3 separate regions of the Homo sapiens genome follow, and regions 1 and 3 are each linked to region 2. Evidence: promoter capture Hi-C in human tissues and cell types (Jung and others, 2019). All regions are on one chromosome and are shown on one strand. The core of a region is centred on a gene start or on the middle of the fragment in contact, and the rest is flanking DNA. Distances in the headings are between cores, read along the strand shown.

The links. The method cuts DNA at HindIII sites, captures the fragments that hold promoters and counts their contacts. A contact is called where the count stands out against the background at its distance.
Region 1: a fragment that was not itself captured here is called in contact with the fragment with the promoter of NUAK2 in region 2 in 2 of the 25 tissues and cell types used here (hippocampus and neural progenitor cells).
Region 3: a contact is called between a fragment that was not itself captured here and the fragment with the promoter of NUAK2 in region 2, in 2 of the 25 tissues and cell types used here (neural progenitor cells and ovary).

Annotation. Positions count from the first base shown.
Region 1 is chr1:205,263,182-205,266,766 of GRCh38, forward strand. All of the region lies in intron 2 of TMCC2 (transmembrane and coiled-coil domain family 2), which reads left to right. Among named protein-coding and RNA genes, the nearest start is that of TMCC2-AS1, 28 kb to the left of the region's middle. RefSeq lists an enhancer at 84-781. The HindIII fragment of the contact is 8,685 bases long and covers 1-3,585 here.
Region 2 is chr1:205,320,047-205,323,737 of GRCh38, forward strand. NUAK2 (NUAK family kinase 2) reads right to left here and starts at 1,699. Exons shown (of 7, transcript NM_030952.3): 1 at 1,352-1,699. The coding sequence starts at 1,582. RefSeq lists a silencer at 1,206-1,385. The HindIII fragment of the contact is 16,843 bases long and covers 1-3,691 here.
Region 3 is chr1:205,359,976-205,363,700 of GRCh38, forward strand. No RefSeq gene overlaps it. Among named protein-coding and RNA genes, the nearest start is that of KLHDC8A, 4.9 kb to the left of the region's middle. The HindIII fragment of the contact is 3,306 bases long and covers 119-3,424 here.

The DNA.
Region 1 (3,585 bases), core at 81-2,580, 57 kb before region 2:
GGGCAAGTGGAGTCTGCATGGAGACCAGTGAGATTAAGGGTTACCTCCAGTGAGGAAGGCTGGAGATGCCACCGTGATGTCTTCAGAGGTGATTTTAAATGCTATGGCCAATATTTGGACCTTTCTAAGGATTTGCACGCCCTCAGATATGGAGAAGGCAGGACGGGGCTGGGGAGAACTCCTTTCTTTTTCCTTGCTCTCTCAGGGTGTAAAAACCCACAGTCTGGCCGAGTGCAGCTTGGCTCAGGCCTGTAATCCCAGCACTTTAGGAGGCCAAGGCAAGAGGATTGCTTAAGCCCAGGAGTTTGAGACCAGCCTGGGCAACATGGCAAAACCCTTTCTCTACAAAAAAATACACAAATTAGCCAGGTGTGGTGGCATGTACCTGTAGTCCCTGCTACTGGGGAGGCTGAGGTGGGAGGATTTGAGCCTGGGGAGGTCAAGGCTGCAGTGAACCATGATTACCTTACTGCACTCCAGCACTCCAGCACTCCAGCCTGGGCAGCAGAGTGATTCTGACTCAACAAAAAACAAAAAAAGCCTGCAGTCTTAGCTATATGAAATTCCAGTTTCATCGCTGTGGAGTGAGGCTGGGCTGTGGTTGATAACCACTGATTAGACTCTTGCTTCCTAAAAAGGTGGCAGAGGGCCAGCTCTCCCAGCCAAAGGTGTCTTAAGCTGTGGATCTGTCAGAGCTACCCAGCCCTCCAAGGTGAGGTTAGGCCCTGAGTTTTGGAGCCAGACAGGATTTATATTCTAGGTTCTTTACTTACTAGTGGTGTAGTCCTGGGCAAGTTACATCTGTAGGCCTTGGTTTTCTCTCCTGTAAAATGGAAATAATAGTGCTACCCATCTTGTGAGGTTAATACTGGGATTAAATGAATTAATAGGTGTAAACACTGAGAGACAAGTCTGACGTATGTCAAGAAATGTTAGTGTTTGAAGGAGATTGGTTCCAAGACCCCCTGCAGATACCAAAGTTCCAGATTGCTTAAGTCTCATACAGTAAATAGTGTAGTATTTGCATAGAACCTGCACACATCCTCCCTTTAAATCATCTCTAGATTACGTACAATACCTAGTACAATGTAAATACTATGAAAATAGAAAATAGTGTGACACTGTTGTTTCTTGTTTTTTGTTTTTTGTTTTTGTTTTTGAGACGGAGTCTCTGTCACCCAGGCTGGAGTGCAGTGGTGCAGTCTTGGCTCACTGCAACTTCCGCCTCCCAGGTTCAAGTGATTCTTCTGCCTCAGCCTCCTGAGTAGCTGGAACAACCGGAACATGCCACCACACTCAGTTAATTTTGTTTTTTTTTTTTGGGACGGAGTCTCGCTCTGTTGCCCAGGCTGCAGTGCAGTGGCGTGATCTCGGTTCACTGCAAGCTCCGCCTCCCAGGTTCGCGCCATTCTCCCGCCTCAGCCTCCCGAGTAGCTGGGACTACGGGTGCCCGCCACCACATCCCACACCCAGCTAATTTTTGTATTGTTAGTAGAGACAGGGTTTCACCATGTTGGCCAGGCTGGTCTCCAACTCCTAACCTCAGGTGATCCGCCCGCCTTGGCCTCCCAAAGTGCTGGGATTACAGGTGTGAGCCACTGCGCCTGGCCCCTGTATTTTAAAATTTGTATTATTATTATTTTAATCCATGGTTGGTTGAATCCATGGATGTGGAATTCTCAGATACAGAAGGCTAACTATAATTGTTATCCTTATCCTTTGTCCAAAACATTTAGAATTTGAGAAAAAGAGAAGAGCCCAGAGGCCATAGGGAAAATATGCCACCTTTCTGGAAGCCAGTGGAACTGAGTCCTCCACAGGGAAGAGAATAAAATGGGGATATGTTCTGTGACTGGAGACTGACCCGCTCAATCCAGGCATTGCAGACCTTCATGTCACCAAGGAGGTGTCCAGGCCTCTGTGGAGGGACGGAAGGAGCTGGTGTCCTGCTGCAGGACTGTTAGGCTCAAGTCTGGGTCCTAGGGTAGAGAAGAGGGGTGGACGAGGGGGCCAGGGCTTCAGCCCAGGCCTCTGCACCCACCATCAGGCCCCAGCTGTTTTTCCCAGGAGTGTTTCTTCTCCTCTCATTAATGGGGATTTCACAGCCAGCTTCAACTCCGCTTTTCCATTTGTAAGCCAGAAAGATGCCAAATCAAGGGAGGAGAGAGCCAAGCTGCTAGGAAGGAGCCACGGCAGGTGGAGACTTTGCTATTTTACACTCCTGTATAGTCCTAAAACACTTTTGCTTTTCACAGCATTTCACATCCATTTCTTATTAGCTCCTCCCACTCTCCCCCTAAGTAGTTGGGACAGACTCTGTCCCTGTTACAAAGATGAGCAAATGGCAGTGATGCAGCCAGACTCAGAACCCATTTTCTTTTCTTTTTTTTTTTTTTTTGAGACGGAGTCTCGCTCTGTCGCCCAGGCTGGTGTGCAGTGGCGTGATCTCGGCTCACTGCAACCTCTGCCTCCCAGTTCAAGAAATTCTCCTGCCTCAGCCTCCTCAGTAGCTGGGATTACAGGCGTCCGCCACCACGCCCAGCTAATTTTTGTATTTTTAGTAGAGACAGGGTTTCACCATGTTGGTTAGGCTGGTCTCGAACCCCTGACCTCATGATCCACCCGCCTCAGCCTCCCAAAGTGCTGGGATTACAGGCATGAGGCACTGCACCTGGCCCCAGAACCCATTTTCTAGATATTCTTTCTCCCAAGAAGACAGTGAAAGAGAGCTGGGCATCTGTGGAAAGGGCAGCAGCTTTATAAGAGAGACAGGTTCTGGGCTGGGCGTGGTGGCTCAAGCCTGTAATCCCAGCACTTTGGGAGGCTGAGGCGGGCGGATCATGAGGTCAGGAGATCGCGACCATCCTGGCTAACACGGTGAAACCCCATCTCTACTAAAAATACAAAAAATTAGCCGGGCATGGTGGCAGGCGCCTGTAGTCCCAGCTACTCGGGAGGCCGAGGCAGGAGAATGGCGTGAACCCCGGAGGCGGAGCTTGCAGTGAGCCAAGATTGCGCCACTGCACTGCAGCCTGGGCGACAGAGCGAGACTCTGTCTCAAAAAAAAAAAAAAAAAAAAAGTTCTGTAACATCAAAGGCCATGTGTTGCCTATAAAACATAATTTTGGGCCGGGCGCGGTGACTCATGCTTGTAATCCCAGCACTTTGGGAGGCTGAGGCGGGTGGATCCCCTGAGATGAGGAGTTGAAGAGCAGTCTGGCCAACATGGCGAAACTCCATTTCTACTAAAAATACAAAAAAATTAGCCGGGCGTGGCGGCTCATGCCTGTAATCCCAGCTACTCAGGAAGCTGAGGCAGGAGAATCACTTGAACCCAGGAGGCATAGGTTGCAGTGAGCTGAGATGGCCCCACTGCATTCCAGCCTGGGCGACAGAGACCCCGTCTCCAAAAAAAAACAAAAAACAAATAAAAAAAAAAAAACCGTTAATTTTGTGTAGTTCTAGCAATACAGAGTAAATTTGTTGGTATAATTTCTGAAATAAATTTAGGCCAGCTTGATTGCAGGCATTTTTTCTCCCAGGGGAAAAAAGGGATTACGCTGCCTAGATTCAGATTCAGCGTTT
Region 2 (3,691 bases), core at 449-2,948:
CCTATCCTAGACCTTCAGAATAAATTACTCTGGGTGTGGAACCAGAGAATGTAAGTATTTTAAACAAACATCCCAGGTGATCCTTACGTACTTTAAACTCAAGTTTGAGAACCAGTTAACCACTGCTAACTAACTTTTGACAAATTTGCCATCCTTTCTGGGCTGCCCTTTCCAGAAATTCTCACTGCAAGTTCTTTTTTTGTTTGTTTCGTTTTGTTTTGTTTTGTTTTGTTTTTGAGACGGAGTCTCGCTCTGTTGCCCAGGCTGGAGTGCAGTGGCACGATCTCGGCTCACTGCAAGCTCCGCCTCCTGGGTTCAGGCCATTCTCCTGCCTCAGCCTCCCGAGTAGCTGGGACTACAGGCGTCCGCCACCACGCCCGGCTAATTTTTTGTATTTTTAGTAGAGACGGGGTTTCACTGTGTTAGCCAGGATGGTCTCGATCTCCTGACCTCACGATCCGCCCGCCTCGGCCTCCCACAGTGCTGGGATTACAGGCGTGAGCCACCGCGCCCGGCTATCTCACCGCAAGTTCTATGTGTTAGGAGCAATATAAGTTCATATTTCGATCTTATTCAATCCTCACAGCAGCTTGTGAGGCAGGCTGTGTTTTCTACAGTTCTGCAAAAGGGGAAACAAAGTACAGAGATGAAGGAAATTGCCCAAGGTCACACAGACTGCTAGACTCCTACGCTCGCACCAAAGTAACAGGGCATGTTCTTGAAAAGGCCCCCAAACCGAAAGGTGTCTCTGGTACAGTGGACCTGGTTTCACATTTTCCAGAATCAAAAACTCATCATAATGAAATTTCAACTAAATTTTAGAGCTGGAAAGGACCTAAATGTCAAAACCCACCCCGTGCCAGAGCTCCAGTGTGCTGGGTTGCCAGATTCTTGGAGTTGGGGAAATCCACACCTCATCCATTCATTCAACCACACACATATTTACCAAATACCTATTAAGATGGGGTGCCTTCTACTTCCTCTTTCCATTGCACTCTATTGAACAGTCTTTTCCCAGCAAAACTCAACTTAAGTCCCATCCATCTTATCCCAGGACACGACACGATTCGTTTTTCCGCGCCAACTATCCATAGCCTCCCTTTTATTTGGCAATCATCACAGCAGTACGGTGTTGCTGGCTGGGGTTCGCAAGTTTGCGACCACTGTCCCTGCAATCACGGACTGACACATCTGCCAGGGACACCCCGCAGTAGCCCCGCAAGCTCAGCGCGGTAAAGACCACGCTGGCCTCTCCGCCGAGCAACGAGCGAGCCGCCGCCCGCCCTCCTCCGCTCCCTGCCGGCGGCCAAGCCGGAGCCCGCCCCGCGCCGCGAGAGGGAGCCGCACTCACCAGGCGCCCCGAGCTCTCCCGCGCCTTCTTCACCTTCCCGTAGGTGCCTTTGCCCAGGGTCTCCAGGAACTCGTAGCGGTGCCGCAGGTTGTGCTTGTGGTGGTGCCGCTTCACCGCCTGCTTCTTCATTAGGGGCTTGGGCGACTTGATCAGCCCTTCCGCCAGCGGCCGGGCTAGCTCTGCGGCCGAGGGAGTGGGGCCGGAGCGCCGCGCGAAAACCAGCGACTCCATGGCGAGCAGGAGGTGAGCAAGGGCGGCAGGGGAATCAGTAGGCTGTGCGGGGAGGGCTGAAGCGCGGGGCACAGGTCCCGCACCAGGACGGGGAGCCACAGCAGTACCAGAGCGCGCAGTAAAGCACAGCATTCCAAGTTGTTATAAACGCCCTGAGCCCGAGGCCCTGGACACGCCCCCCGGCGCCCATTGGCCTGCTCGACGGCGGCGCGTGACCACGGCCGTCCACATTGGCTCTCCGGGGCTCCAGGCCCCGCCTCCTCCCCCTCGGCGTGGCCGGGAAAGGTGTCAATGGAACCCGCCCACCAGGAATGGGGACTAGGGGATTCCAGCGAAGGCCGCCTGAGGCCCAGAAGCTTACTCTGAGGGCCCTTGGAGCTGCACTTGCCTCTGAGTGGCGCTTGGTCCTGCTTAATGCCCTGTTGTTTTATTGTACTCTGTTCTCAGTTGGCAAGGGGCGATCTGAGGGCACTAAAGGTCACCAAAGTATTTCTTCATCCTGAGTAATTTGCTTGTCCCAAGCCAAAATCTATAATTGCTTGACCACTTCATTGAGTCCATAAAGGAGAAAGGGAGCTGGGATGGAACAGAGGCAGAATCCAGCCTAGTGGGAGGGTTAGTGCAGAGCTGTCCTATGGTTCGAGTTCACTTGTCTTCAGTTAGATCAACCTTACTTGGATATTGGAATCCAATGGCCCTGGAAACTTCTTCCTTCTTCCTCAAAGAGGGCTTCTTAGGCGAATCGCTTGAGGTCCAGGAGTTCAAGACCAACCTAGCCAACATGACGAAATCCCATCTCCACTAAAGATACAAAATTAGCCGGGCGTGGTGGTGCGCGCTTGTAATCCCAGCTACTCTGGAGGCTGAGGCAGAAGAATCGCTTGAACCCAGGAGGCAGAGGTTTCAGTGAATCAAGATGGCGCCACTGCACTCCAGCCTGGGCAACAAAGTGAGGCTCCGTTTCAAAAAAAAAGAGGGCTTCTAAGGTTTAGTAGATTCCCTCAACCACTTAGTGGAATTTATTTAGGATGTGTCGGCTGGAGGTGGAGAGAACCCGAAGGGATACATATTTATTTAACATTTTTACATGCCGACTATCTAACCTGTGTCCCTAAGTCTGAAAATGGTTGCTCCACCCAAGGTTTTCTTGTGATTTTGGTGCCAGGAGCACTGGTGGTAGGTTATGAGGTTTGACTTGAGACGGAGTCTCCCTCTGTCGCCCAGGCTGGAGTGCAGTGGTGCGATCTCTGCTCACTGCAAGCTCCGCCTCCCGGGTTCACGCCATTCTCCTGCCTCAGCCTCTCCGAGTAGCTGGGACTACAGGCGCCCGCCACCACGCCCGGCTAATTTTTTGTATTTTTAGTAGAGACAGGGTTTCACCATGGTCTTGATCTCCTGACCTCGTGATCCGCCCGCCTCGGCCTCCCAAAGTACTGGGATTACAAGCGTGAGCCACTGCGCCCAGCTTGACTTAGTTTTTGAGGCCTGGAGTTGCTAGGTCCAGAATCTCCACTCTGAGTGCTCATTTACAGTGAAATGAGAATGGCCATAGGTTTTCCTTCTTGCTTTAAATGGCAGAAAGGGAACATTTCCCCTTTGGCCATCTTGATAACCTAATCCTGTGAAATGAGTATTATTCTGTCCAAGGCCACACAACTGGTAATAAAGTGGCGGGATTTAGACCCTGGTCCTGAGGAAGAGAATAGAGGACAATAGACCTGGATCCTCTTCCCTGAGGGAAACCCCTTCTGCCAGCCAGTTTAGGGCCCTGGATGGATTCTAGCTATGCTGGAGAGCCAGCCTTCCCCTCAGGCCTTCAGGAGGATGGTGCCTCCCCTGTGTATCCAGGGCATGCTGAGGATGGAGAAGGACCCACCCCCAGTGGCTGCCCACTTTTCTACTTCCACTGATCCTTTGATTATTTTTCTAGTGTGAGTTACAGATGTCTCCATCCCTCCATGGAGCTCTTTATCTCCTTTGTGACTGGAGAGGATCCATCTTACACAGGAAACCAATGTATCGCTCCCAAATTTGGAGGGCCACAGGAGGTGGCAGCTGGTTTGGCATTCTTCCCTCCACCAGCCTCCCCTTTTGCTGTGGGTTTTCTGT
Region 3 (3,725 bases), core at 522-3,021, 40 kb after region 2:
TTCTGGGACACAGATAAGTCACAAAGCTGGGTTTATCTGCAGGGTTCAGGATTGATCAGCTCAGCGTATATTTCCAAGGCTCTTCTCTACTCAGCCACCCCTCCCAGCTCAAAAAACAAGAGGCCCACACCAAAATATAAAAAGGTGCTGGATCTAAAATCCTGCCTAATTTAAGCTCTGCTCACAAAGGAGGCCAGAGAGCAGAGGGAGGGGTGGAAATCAAATAAGTAAATGTCAGCCCTGCAGTTGGGTAGAAGCCATTAGCCAGGCAGAGCATCCAATTAGAAGCCATTGAATTAGAGCAGTGAAAGAAGGGCCTCACGTCAGAGGGCACTGCGGGGAGGGCCGGCACAAGTGGGCAGGAAGGAACGCGGGGTGGCGATCAATGGAGGATTACCGGAAGATGTGCAAATGGCAGGAACAGATGCCTTCCAAATGACAGGGCACCCGGTCCAGATACTCTACATAAAATGCCCACATGGTTCCTTTGTCCTCCCCCAAATCCTGTCTGAGGGAGTCCAGCCATCTCATGGGCTATTTTGGAAAACACTGCTCCCTTTTGCCTCAACCCAGAGATAAAATGGGCAGCTCTCAGCCACTCTCGGATTAATCTGAACAGACAAAGAAGGGGAGCAAATCCCTTGGCAAATGGTGCCTGGGAGATTTCATTTTTCCGCTTTGCAGTACAAACCTACTCAAACAGATACTAAAATACAAAGCGAAGTTTGTTCACATGGAGATGTTTTTATTTAAAACTATAATATTATTTTATTTTGTAATCAGTAATTGTCAATGCTCAATCTTTTTTTTTTTAACAAATTCTTATTTCCTTGTTCAGAGAAGAAAAAGATTCACATTTCCTTCCTTTCTCCTAAATTAGAAGATTTCAGATTCAGTCTCTTAGAAGCCACGTAATTTGCCTGTGATGCCCATGTCCCACTGATCCTAGAACTTTAGGGAGAAAAGTCCACTGTGAAAATAAAAATAGAAAGTAGTTCTGATTTAGGACAATCGAGTCTTACATATTCATTTAACAACCAGCTAATGGCACCTCCTGAGTACGCAGCATGAGCTGGCAGAGCACATTGGTCTGGTGCTCAGGAAGCTTCCAGGCTCAGGCAGGGTTAAGACACAAGGCTAGCCTCTGCAGAGTGGAAGGAAGCATGTGTTACGGGACACACAATGGGTCTGCTCTTTGCGCTTTGGGAGTGGAGAGGAAGAAGTAATCATAACTATCAGAGGATGCCAGAGAAGACCTTGTGGGAGAGAGGGTCTTTGAGCAGGGCCTTTGAAGAGGTGTCAGATTTGGGTCAAAATGAGTCGGGGGCATTCCAAGAAGATACAGTGCATCGATGTTGCAGACTGGAATGTGGTTGAGACTAACTGTAGGGCTACCAGATACAACAGAGGATGCCCAGTTAAATCTGAATATTTAGGATATCCCAAAAAACGATTTGTTGTTTAAAATTAAGATTTAAGTGAGTATCTTTTACCCACTGTCTATTTTTTACCCCGTCTATTATTCCTAGAAATTTCTCTTTGTTTTTGGTAGAGTTGGGATCTCACTTTGTTGCCCAGGCTGGTCTTGAACTCCTGGACTCGATTGAACCTCCCACCTCAGCCTTCCAAAGTGCTGGGATTACAAGCATGAGCCACCACGCCCGGCCCAACATTTTTATTTCCTGAATCTGGCAACCTCATGACAAGAGCAAATGACCACTCTCATACTTGGAGTTTCCTGCAGCCTGCCCAACTCCAAAGTTGCCTTGTGAGTTCTGAAAGGAACTGGGAATGGCAGCCCTTGCTTGGATGTCATGTCAGAGGACTAGGCACAGTGGTTGACACCTGTAATCCCAGCTCTTGGGAGACTGAGGCAGGAAAATGCTTGAAGCCAGGAGTTTTAGACAAGCCTGGGCACCATAGTGAGACACCTGCAACACCTCCCACCCCCAATCTCTATCAAAAAAAATTAGCCAGGGACAGTTAAATGTGCGTGTAGTCCTAGCTGCTCAGGAGGCTGAGGCAAGAGGATCACTTGAGCCCAGGAGTTCAAGGCTGCAGTGAGCTATGATCACACATCATTGCATTCTAACCTGGGAGATAGAGTGAGACCATGTCTCTTAAAAAAAAAAAAAAAAAAAGAGCGGCGCTTCTCAGAAGGCAGTAGAGAGACCTTGAAAGTTTTTGAGCCAAGAAGTGAAGTGATCAGAGCAGTGTTTGGAATATTAATCTGGCAGCAGCATAAACAGTGTTTAGTCCAGGAGAAGAGTTTCATGATAAGGAGATCACATAGTCTTCCTTTGTGATTATTTGTGGGGCACCCACTATGTGCCAGACACAATGCTAAACACCAGGGGCATGATGGTGAAAAAGAAATGTATAGTTCCTCTCTTAGTGAAGCTTATGAATAAATTAACAAGCAATTGATTTCAATAAAGGGAGGTGCATTTCATCAGAGAAGAACTTGGCCTACTTAGAAGATTATCAAAATAGCCTACTGGTGAGAAGATGAGGACCTAAATTAGGGTCATGGAAATGGGAATGTAAGATGTTTTTGCAAAGCGAGATTTTAGAATATATTCAGGACATGATCAAGTGATTTGACTCTTAATTACAAGCATAGTTGGAGCAGGAGAAAAACAGATCATTAAAATCCAGAGATAACCCCAAATGCCAATTACTCAGGCGTTTCATGCTTCTCTCTCATCCATGGGTTATGACTGTATTTGTGTCTTTATGCACACACAAAACAGTAAAGCATAGTGGTTTCGAGAAAGAGCTTCAAAGACCTAAATGTAAGAGCTAAAACTATACAACTCTCCGGAGAAAACATAAGCATAAATCTTAATGACCTTGGAGTAGGCAATGTTTTCTTAGATATGACAGGAAAGCGCAAGCAACAAAAGGAAAAAATAGATACGTTGTAGCATGTATCAGTACTTTCTTTTTTGCCTAACAATATTTCATTGTATGAATATTCCATGTTTTATTTATCTATTCATCAGTTGACAGGATTTCTTTTAGGGCTGATAAAATGTTCTAAAATTGATTGTGGTGAGGGTTGCACAAATCCATTTGGCAAAAGCCATTGAATTGTACATTTTAAATGGCTGAATTGTGTGGTGTGTGAATTATTTCTCGACAAAGCTGTGTTTCTTTTTAAAGAGCAAAGCCTTGAGCATCAGATAGATATGGGTTCATATCCTAGTTCTCTGCTTGACCCTGAATAAATCAACTTTCTGAGTCTCAGTTTCTTCATCTGTAAAATCGGATTATTATAGTACCTATTTCACAGGACTGTTGAGAGGATTAAATGAAATAATGTGTGTAAAATACTTAGCACAATTCCAGGCATATAAGCTTTATTATTATTTTTTTTATGTTGCCTAGGCTGGTCTCAATCTCCTGGGCTCCAGTGATCCTCCCGCCTTAGCCTCCCAAAGTGCTGAGATTACAGGCGTGAGCCAGCGCACCCAGCCTATAATAAGCTTTTAATTAATGTGACTTATACTAGTAAGGTTGGATGATTAGCAACTTTAGTGTGTGACCACAGACCATCCTTAATTCTAGCACCTTAAGTTATACAAGGGTATTCCCTGAAAACGTCATGGGACTAGGTATACATTTAGGGAAGTAACAGCTGTGCAATCCCACATATCATTTCAAAGCCAAAAAATAGAGTTCTCAGTTGTCAAAACACAATCCTCAGAATTAAAAACCAAAAC